2 separate regions of the Homo sapiens genome follow, and region 1 is linked to region 2. The links are contacts of gene promoters, found by promoter capture Hi-C in human tissues and cell types (Jung and others, 2019). All regions are on one chromosome and are shown on one strand. The core of a region is centred on a gene start or on the middle of the fragment in contact, and the rest is flanking DNA. Distances in the headings are between cores, read along the strand shown. Region 1 has its middle 48 kb from the start of ZNF136. Region 2 holds the start of ZNF443 (zinc finger protein 443).

Region 1 (5,341 bases), core at 1,193-3,692, 230 kb after region 2:
TATTTATTTGCAAACTACCTCTCTGACAAGGGGTTAATAACCACAATATATACAGAGCCCAAACAACTCTATAGGAAGAAAATCTAATAATCTGGTCAAAAAATAGGCAAAGGATTTGAATAGACATTTCTCAAAAGAAGACATACAAATGGCAAACAGGCATATGAAAAGCAACATAGCAAGACCCTGTGTCTACAAAATATACAAAAATCAGCCAGGTGTGGTGGCATGCACCTGTAGTCCCAGCTACTTGGGAAGCTGAGGTGGGAGGATTGCTTGAGCCCAGGAGTTTGGAGACTACAGTGAGTTATGATCATGCCACTGCACTCCAGCCTGGGCAACAGAGCAAGACTACATCTGTATTTTTTAAAAACTTCTAAACCATGATCAAGTGAGATTTATCTCCAGAATGCAAACAGTGCATCCTATGAAAATCGGTCAATATAATATACCACATTAGCCGAATGACGGAAAAATCACAGTAATCTCAATTGATACACAAAAGGCATCTGACAAAATTCAAGACCCGTTGATGATAAACAACAAACTAGGAATGGGAGGAAACTAGGTCAATGTAATAGGCCATATATGAAGAATCTACAAGACTATCATACTTAATGGTGAAATATAAACATGGTGATCTTTTCCCCTAAGATCAGAAACAAGATAGGATAACTGCTTTCACCACTTCCATTCAATATAGTACTGGAAGAGCTAGTCAGAGTAATTAGGTAAGAAAAAGAAAAGGCATCCAGTTGGGCGCAGTGGTTCACGCCTGTAATCCTAGCACTTTAGGAGGCTGAGGCGGGTGGATCACCTGAGGCCAGGAGTTCAAGATCAGCCTGTCCAACATGATGAAAACCCGTCTCTACTAAAATACAAAAATTACCTGGGCATGATGGCGGGTGCCTGTAATCCCAGGTACTCGGGAGGCTGAGACGGGAGAATTGCTTGAACCCGGGAGACGGTGGTTGCAGTGAGCCAAGACTGCACCACTGCACTCCAGCCTGGGTGGCTCAGTGAGACTCTGTCTCAGAAAAAAAAAAAAAAGAAAAACAAAAGGCATCCAAATGGGCAAGGAAGAAATAAAATTATGTTGGCAGATGACATAATCCTATGTGTAGAAAATCCTAAAGATTACATACACATATATGTACACAAAAACTGAACTCATAAATGAATTCAGCAAAGTTGCAGGGTACAAAATTAACATTTAAAATTACATTTTTTTTTTGAGACGGAGTCTCGCTCTGTTGCCCAGGCTGGAGTGCAATGGTGCGATCTTGGCTCACTGCAACCTCCACCTCCCAGGTTCAAGCGATTCTCCTGCCTCAGCCTCCTGAGTAGCTGGGATTATAGCTGCCCACCACCAGGCCCGGATAATTTTTATATTTTTTAGTACAGACGGGGTTTCACCATGTTGGTCAGGCTGGTCTCAAACCCCTGACCTCATGATCCACCCGCCTCAGCCTCCCAAAGTGCTGGAATTACAGGTGTGAGCTACTGCACCCAGCCTAAAATTACATTTCAATACACTAACAGTTAATAATCTGAAAAGGAAATTAAGAAAACAATTACATTAGTAATAACATCAAAAAGAATAAAACAGGCCAAGCACAGTGGCTCACACCTGCAAAATCAGCACTTTGGAAGGCCCAAGGTGGGAGGATCACTTGAACCCAGAAGTTCAAGACAAGCCTGAGCAACAAAGTGAGACCTCATACTACAAAAAAAAAAAAAAAAAAAATTGGCTGGACGTGCTGGCCTGTGCCTGTACTCCCAGCTACTGGGAGGCTGAGATGGGAGGACCACTTAAGCCCAGGAGGTTGAGACTGCAGTGAGCCATGATTTCACCACTGCACTACAGTGCAGTGACAGAATGAGACCCTGTCTCAAAACAAAAACAAAAACAAAAAAACAGCTAGCTATAGTGACACAGACATGCAGTCCTAGCTACTGAAGATCCTAAGATGGGAGAACAGCTTGAGCCCAGGAGTTTGAGACTAACCTGGACAACGCAGCAAAACGCCATGACAAAAAATTAACCAAAAAAGCAAAAGACTTGTATACTGAAAACTATAAAACGTTACTGAAAGAAATTAAAGCTATAAATAAATGGAAAGACATTCTGTGTTCATAATTTAAAAGACTTAATTTTGTTAAGGTGTCAATATATTACTGCAAATGCTCTACAAATTCAAAGCAATCATTATCAAAAGGCCCATGACATTTTTTTCTGGAAACAGAAACACTCATCCTAAAATTCACAGGGAATCTCAAAGGACCCCAAATAGCCAAAACAATCTTGAAAAAGAACAACAGGCTGGACATGGTGACTCACGCCTGTAATCCCTGGACTTTGGGAAGCCAAGGTGGGTGGATCACCTGAGGTCAGGAGTTCGAGACCAGCCTGGCCAACATGATGAAACCTCGTCTCTACTAAAAACACAAAAAATTAGTTGGGTGTGGTGGCATATGCCTGTAATCCCAGCTACTCAGGAGGCTGAGGCAGGAGAATCGATTGAACCTGGGAGGCGGAGGTTGCAGTGACCCGAGATCACACCACTGCACTCCAGCCTGTGCAACAAGAGCAAAACTCCGTCTCAAAAAAAAAAAGAAAAACAACAACAAAGCTGGAAGCCTCACTCTTCCTAGTTTCAAAACTTACTCTAAGTTTTGGCTGGGCACGGAGGCTCATGCCTGTAATCCTAGCACTTTGGGAGGCTGAGGCAGGCAGATCACCTGAGGTCGGGAGTTCGAGACCAGCCTTACCAACAAGGAGAAACCCCATCTCTACTAAAAATACAAAAAAATAAGCCGGGCATGGTGGCCCATGCTTGTAATCCCAGCTACTCGGGAGGCTGAGGCAGGAAAATCGCTTGAACCAGGGAGGCGGAGGTTGCAGTGAGCCGAGATCGAGCCATTGCACACACACAAAATTAGCTGGGTGTGGTGGCACATGCCTGTAATCCCAGCTACTCAGGAGGCTAAGGCAGGAGAATAGATTGAACTTGGGAGGCAGAGGTTGCAGTGACCCGAGATCACACCACTGCAGTCCAGGCTGTGTAACAAGAGCAAAACTCTGTCTCAAAAAAAAAAAAAAAAAAAAAAGAAAAGAAAAGAAAAAGAGAACAACAAAGCTGGAAGCCTCACTCTTCCTAGTTTCAAAACTTACTCTAAGTTTCAGTAATCAAAATAGTGTGGTGTTGACATGACATAAAGGCAGATATATAGAGCAATGGAGGCCGGGTGTGGTGGCTCACGCCTGTAATCCCATCACTTTGGGAGGCCAAGGTGGGCAGATCATTAGGTCAGGAGTTCAAGACCAGCCTGGCCAACATAGTGAAACCCCGTCTCTATTAAAACTGCAAAAAAATTAGCCGGGCGTGGTGGCGGGCACCTGTAATCTCAGGCTGAGGCAAGGAGAATCGCTTGAACCTGGGAGGCGGAGGTTGCAGTGAGCCAAGATCGCGCCACTGCGCTCCAGCCTGGGTGACAGTGCGAGACTCCGTCTCAAGAAAGAAAGACAAAAAAAAAAAAACAGAGCAAAGGAATAGAATAGAGACTTCAGAGAGATACCCTTAATTTAAATCAGACTTAAGCCCACAGTCCTGAAACCCTCTAAAGCAACCACTGCCATGAGGGAGGCCCATAACCATGATGACACTGACTTGAGGCTCTCTAGAGAATGAAGGATATAAATATAAGTAGGGTACACAGAACACCCCTCTCCCTCACCCTGCAATCACCAAAAGAAAAAAGAAAAAAATTGAGACAAAGGTCCATAATTTGATCAAATTAGAAATCCAAAGTTTATTAAAATAACAGCAAAAAAATAAATGGGTGCTGACTGGGTTTCACACCTCTACAAAACAGGCTCCGAATTAACTTCAACATCCGTTGAAATGCATCAGTTGGCAAATTTCCATGTCCTTAATCAATACTGGGGCTTAAATTACAGTTTTACCTTAAGATACCATTGAATTTAAACATGGCACCCCCTCCCCCAGTATAACCTTATAGCAAATTCCTGAATAACAAACAGGTATGCCTCAACTTGCCTTTATTGGATTTCTTTCTAGTGAGAATTTTCACATGACTTTGACAGTATTTGTTAAAACTGAAAAACTTCCTGTATTTCTCACATTTGTAAGCTTTATATCTAGCACATTCTTATTGCATGTTTTTGTAAGGAGGTGGGCAAGTTGAAAACTCCCACTTTACTTACATTCAAGAAGTTTTCTGCCAGGGTGTATTTTTTCATGGCTTCTAAATGAACTGGGATGACTGAAGGCTTTTCCACATTCTTTACACTTTATAGGGCTTCTCTCCAGTGTGCATTCTCATGTGTCCTTGAAAAGTTGTACAATAAATGAAAGCTTTGCCACACTGCTTGCATACATAGGGTTTCTCTCCAGTGTGGGTTCTTTCATGTATTCAAAAGGAATTGTGCCAAATGAAGGCTTTACCACATCGTTTACATACGTGGGGTTTCTCTCCACTATGACTTCTTTCATGTATTCTAAAGGAACTGGAACAACTGAAGGCTTTACCACATTGTTTACATTCATACGGTTTCTCTCCAGTGTGAGTCCTTTCATGGATTTGAAATGAATTAAGACAATTGAATGCTTTCCCACATTCGTTACATTTATAAGGTGCATCTCCAGTATGCATTATCATGTGCATTTGAAAGCTTGCAAGAGAAAGGAAGGCTTTCTCACATTGTTCACATTTATAAGGTTTCTCTCCAGTGTGAATATTCATGTGTCCTTTTAACGTAGTTCGATAAATGAAGGCTTTCCCACATTCGTTACATTCACAGGGTTTCTCTCCAGTGTGAGTTCTTTCATGTACTCGAAAGGAACCAAGCCAACTGAAGGCTTTACCACATTGTTTACATTCATATGGTTTTTCTCTAGTGTGAATTCGTTCAGGTACTTGAAATGAACTAGGACAACTGAATGCTTTTCCACACTCCTCGCATTTATAAGGTCCATCTCCACTGTGCATTATCATGTGTCTTTGAAAGCTTGCAAGGTAAATAAAGGCTTTTCCACATTCCTTACATTCATAGGGTTTCTCTCTAGTGTGAGTTCTTTCATGTATTTGGAAACCTGTAAGAGTACTGAAGGTTTTTCCACATTTTTTACATTCATAGGGCTTTTCTCCAGTGTGAGTCCTTTCATGTCTAAGAACAGATTGACGATAACTGAAGGGTTTCCCACATTGTTTACATTTATAGGGTTTCTCTTCACTGTGATTTCTTTCATGTTTTTTAAATGACTGGAAATAACTGAAGGCCTTCCCACATTCCTTACATCTATACGGCTTTTCTCCA
Region 2 (4,968 bases), core at 122-2,621:
AAAAGCTATATATGGCAGACCCACAGCTAGCATGATAATGAATGGGGAAAAACTGAAAGCCCTTCCTGTAAGATCTGGAACACAATAAGAATGCCCACTTTTACCACTGTTGTTCAACACAGTACTTGAAGTCCCAGCTAGAGCAATAAGACAAAAAAAAAAAAAAGAAAAAAAAAGAAATAAAGGGCATCCATATTGGGAAGGAAGAAGTCAAATTATCCTTGTTTGCATATAATATGATCTTATATCTGGAAATACCTAAAGACTCCACCAAAAAAGTATTAGAACTGAGAAATAAATTCAGTAAAGTTGCAGTATACAATATCAACACACAAAAATCAATAACATTTTTATATGCCAACAGTGAACAATCTGAAGCTACTTGAGAGGCTGAGGTGGGAGGATTGCTTGAGCTTAGGAGGTAGAGGTTGCAGTGAGCCATGATGGCCCCACTGCACTCCAGCCTAGGTAACAGAGCAAGACCCCATCTCAAACAACCAAAAATGTGTAGAAGGATGGTTACCAGAGGCTGCGAAAAGTAGTAGCGAGGAGTAGTTATGGGGGAAGTGGGGATGGTTAATAGGTATAAAAAATAGTTACAAAGAATGAATAAGACCTAGTATTTGCTAGCACAACAGAGTGACTATAGTAAAAAATAATTTAATTGTACATTGAAAAATCTTGAAAAATTTCATTGAAAAAGAGCATAATTGGAGCCAGGCGCAGTTGCTCACGCCTCTAATCCCAGAACTTTGGGAGGCCAAGGTAGGCGGATCACGAGGTCACGAGTTTGAGACCAGCCTGGCCAACATGGTGAAACCCAGCCTCTACTGAAAAATACAAAAATTAGCCGGGTGGTGGCGCGTGCCTGTAATCCTAGCTACTCGGGAGGCTGAGGCAGGAGAATTGCTTGAACCCACCCAGGAGGCGAAGGTTGCAGTGAGCCTCGCACCATTGCACTCTAGCCTGGGCGACAGAGCAAGACTCCCTCTCGAGGAAAAAAAAAAAAAAAGATATAATTAGTTTGTCAGTCCGTGTCCAGGAGGAAGAAGCAGGAGGTCCTATTGAGTACGGGCAGGAAATTCCGCTTAAGTGCAAATATAACCCGGGAGGATTCAGATCAAAGAGCAGGGAGGAAGCCCCCCCTGCCAAGGGCTGTGTCAGGAACTTGCTCATCCGGCTCCACTCAGCTGTGCAAGATCGCTTCTTCTGTCAATCAGCCCTCAGGGGGCGGGACCTGACGCCCTATCCAATCAGGGGCGTGGGGCGGGTTCGTGGGAACTGTCAATCAGGCACTGCCCAGAGAAGTGTGTGTGGTTGAAAAAGCCCGCGGCGTCTGCTCCACCCACCTGCGCTCGGCTCTGGGTTCTGTAGCTGAGAGACGACCTGGAAGTTCTGAGGCAGCCTTTGTCTGGCTGGAACACGCATTGGCAGCGGGAGCTGTCGGTAGGACCTGGGACACCGCGGAAGTCGGGAAATGGTGCGTGTGCTGGGCCGGCGTCCCGAGGCGGGGGAGGGGTTAGGTGGAACCGGCCGTAATCGGCTGTGGCTGGACCCGGGCCTCCCCAAGGGCGACTTCGGGATCTACGGACCCGGGTCCCCCTGGCGTAGGTCGGCCCTCGGCCGCAGGGTGGGGCTGGGCATGCAGCCGGGACCCCGGGCGTCCTGTCCCGTTCCTGCGCGGCGACTGCGGCCCCGGCGCCCTCTCTGGGCAGCTCCGAGCCCGCAGCCCCGGGTCTCCCCAGATTGTGCGGCTGTAACCAACACAGGTTCGCGGCCCGACTCACTGCACCGAGACGCCGAGGGCTGCAGCAGAAACGGTTTAACAGGAGGAGAGGGGAGGACACCCCAGATCCGCCTCCCTGAGGGATTTGGGGTCTGGACGGGGGCGGCTGGGTGTAGCGTCCTTGGTTGGTGGGGAAGTGAGGGGTGAATCCTGGGACAGGAGGTGAAGAAACCGCATTCTGCTGAGAGGGCTCCCTCGTGGGGTCTTCAACCTGGTTGGCGCCAGCCTTTCTGCTGGGATTCAGGATCTGAGAACTCCGGCGACTCTTGAGCAGCACTCGGAGATCTTATCCCCAGGCACAATGGGGAAGCCGGCGGTCAGCGTCTGCTGTGACCTGACTCTCAGGGAGGCGGCCCCTTGAGGCAGCGGGGCTGAGGGCACCTGTTTAATATCTAACTGCAATCTCGCCTCCAGCCTGGCTCGCAGTTCCTGTGAACCCGGTGAGGAGGCTGCACGGTGACGACGAGTCACCAGGTGGAATCCAGACTCGTGTGTGGGGTTTGTGTGTGGGAGGAGCTGTGGTTTCCGTGGTCCTCAGTCCTTTCTTCCTTTCCAAGGGCGACCGTTTCCCCTCTGAGTCTTCCAAAGACGTGGGCAGCAGGGTCTCAAATCCACCACTGTGTTCTCTCATCCTGACTCTTCCTAGGGCTGGCAGCAAATCTCTTGGTTTCCAGAGACTTCCCCAGGCTAACCTTCTGTCCTTAATTCACAGCAACAGTATGAACTGTTTGGCCCCAGGCGATATTTCACTAGTTTGTCATCTTGTTTTCAGCTAGCAATGTATGGCTTTTTCTTGAAAGAATTGTTTTGGGTTCCTGAACACGGTGGGTCATTCCTGTAATTCCAGCACCTTGGGAGGCTAAGGCAGAGGTATTGCTTGATCCCAGTAGTTCCAGACCAGCCTGGGCAACATGGCAAGACTTTGTCTCTAGTGTAAATGATAATAATAAAATTAGCTGGGCTTGGTAGCTGGCACCTGTAGTCGCAGCTACTCCTGAGGCTGAGGTGGGATGATGGCTGGAGCCCAGGAGTTTGAAGTTGCAGTGAGCTATGATCGTGCCTCTGCATCCCAGCCTAGGCAACAGAGGCCGACCCTGTCTCAAAAAAAATGGATGTCCACAGCTGCCAAGTCTCTTGGAGGGTCTAGTGAATATCATCCCCTGGGTCACTCCTCCCAGGGGACAGCCTGAGATGGAAGGTGTGGCCCCCTGGGGAGCAACTGGATCCACTGGGATGGGAGGAATCTTCTGGTATATAATTCCTGTAAAAAGCTAACTCCTGGGACACTCACCTTTTCTTCCCAACCCTAGTTTCCATTCCTTGGAGACACATGACTGAACAGCCAATTTCATGGTCATATTCCATAGGAAAAAAAACGGAAATGATTTTTGCCTTCTGGACTCTCTCAGACTTAAAAGGTAGAAAGTTATATCTAAGGACTGGAGAACCTGCCCTTTGAGGTAGTGCAAGATCCTGAAAAGCACACAAGGCAGTGTCTCCTAGGAGGGTGGTGAGTGTCTCCTAGGAGGGTGGCGAACAGAATAGGGTTAAGGGATGTCCCAGGTGATAGGATGACCTGCACTGATTGTTGCATTAGACTTTTCTGTGTTCCAGTCAGCACTGCTGATTCCTGAGTTTGTTAGCTTGAAAAGATATGTTTACTCTTTTCAGCCTAAATTTTTGATTAACCGTGAAATACATCCTATGATTAGAGATTGTTATTTTATACTTTGAAGACAAAGTATACCCAAAGTTGGAAAGAGTCGGACTTCAGAAAATAAATTTTATAAGTAATACTAGAAAGAGTTGGACTTCAGAATATAAATGGTATATGTAATCTTCTATTCCATTTTTTAAAAGCCTTTATTTATTTTTTTTGCCCCAGAGCTTGTGTAGTACGTTTCTCAGGTGTGTTTGTTTTTCGGATGATTTCAGATGGAATTTCAGGACTTAGTAGTATAACTACTACCAAGGGAAAAACCCTCTTCCATTATGGCTGCAAAAAAGGAATACATTTTTACAAGAAAGTGTAATAGGTACATTGAATTAAAAAGATTTAACAAAAGTTCAGTTCTTCTCCTTTTTAAAAGGGTGGAGATTTTGGGACAATGGAGAAATCTGTTCTGTTCCTGTTATATCTGACAGATGAATGCTAAATTCTGTGGGACAGGACTTTCCAACAGCTAAAGAAGTAAAATATAATTATTTTTTACTATATCACTTACTATCATGGAAATAGTAATTAAATGACATTCATTGTCTGGAAGGGATAGGTATTTGGGCTTTTCCTGTTGAGCTATAAAATGTCAGTGCCTTACAATTTCCTTCCCACCCGTAGACATAGACACTGAATTTGAGTGATTTTCCTGGATTCATCAAACATGAGTATTTTGTTTTTAAATATCCATGTAAAGCATAGAAGGGTAAGAGAGTAGCTTTGACTATGGCAGAGAGGCCTGAGGCCAATGCCCCCACCTCCAGCTAAGACCAATTTTTTTTTTTTTTTTTTGAGACAGCATCTCTGTTGTCCAGGCTGGAGTGCAGTGGCACGATCTCAGCTCACTGCAACCTCCGCCTCCTGCGTTCAAGCGATTCTCTTGCCTCAGCCTCCTGAGTAGCTGGGACTACGGGTGCGTGCTACCATGCCTGGCTAATTTTTTTTTTTTTTGTATTTTTAATAGAGACGGGGTTTCACCATATTGGCCAGGCTGGTCTTGAACTCCTGACCTCGGGCAATCCACCAGCTTTGGCCTCCTAAAGTGCTGGGATTACAGGCATGAGCATCATGCCCATCCCCATATGGCTTTTGATTAGGGCTAGAATGGAGTATATTTTTTCATACCTTTATATTTAATGTACCTGTGTCTTTCTACTTAAAATAGTTTTCTTGAGAGAATAAAAAAAATAGTTTTCTTGCACACATTGGTAGGTCTTGTTTTTTTTATTCTACTCTGTCAGTCCTTGTCTTCTTTTATTGGTATATTCATATAATACACATTTAAAGTGGTTATTGATATACTTGGATTCATGTGTACATATATAATTGTTTTATATTTGTTATACTTGTCGGTTTTTTTCAACTTCCTTTCTTTTTCTGTCTCCTTTTATTTTAACTGAGGTGTCTATATGATTGTGTTTTCTTCTAATAGTATAGTAAGTCTACTTGTTTCTTTGTTTCTTTG

The links. Contacts are between HindIII fragments. The study calls those that stand out against the background at their distance.
Region 1: a fragment that was not itself captured here is called in contact with the fragment with the promoter of ZNF443 in region 2 in 1 of the 25 tissues and cell types used here (adrenal gland).

The regions. Positions count from the first base shown.
Region 1 is chr19:12,208,319-12,213,659 of GRCh38, reverse strand. It overlaps the pseudogene LOC100289333. Among named protein-coding and RNA genes, the nearest start is that of ZNF136, 48 kb to the right of the region's middle. The HindIII fragment of the contact is 4,844 bases long and covers 21-4,864 here.
Region 2 is chr19:12,437,424-12,442,391 of GRCh38, reverse strand. It overlaps ZNF443 (zinc finger protein 443), which reads left to right and starts at 1,371. Exons shown (of 4, transcript NM_005815.5): 1 at 1,371-1,480. The coding sequence starts at 1,478. RefSeq lists an enhancer at 923-1,192 and a silencer at 1,603-1,692. The HindIII fragment of the contact is 16,773 bases long and covers 1-4,968 here.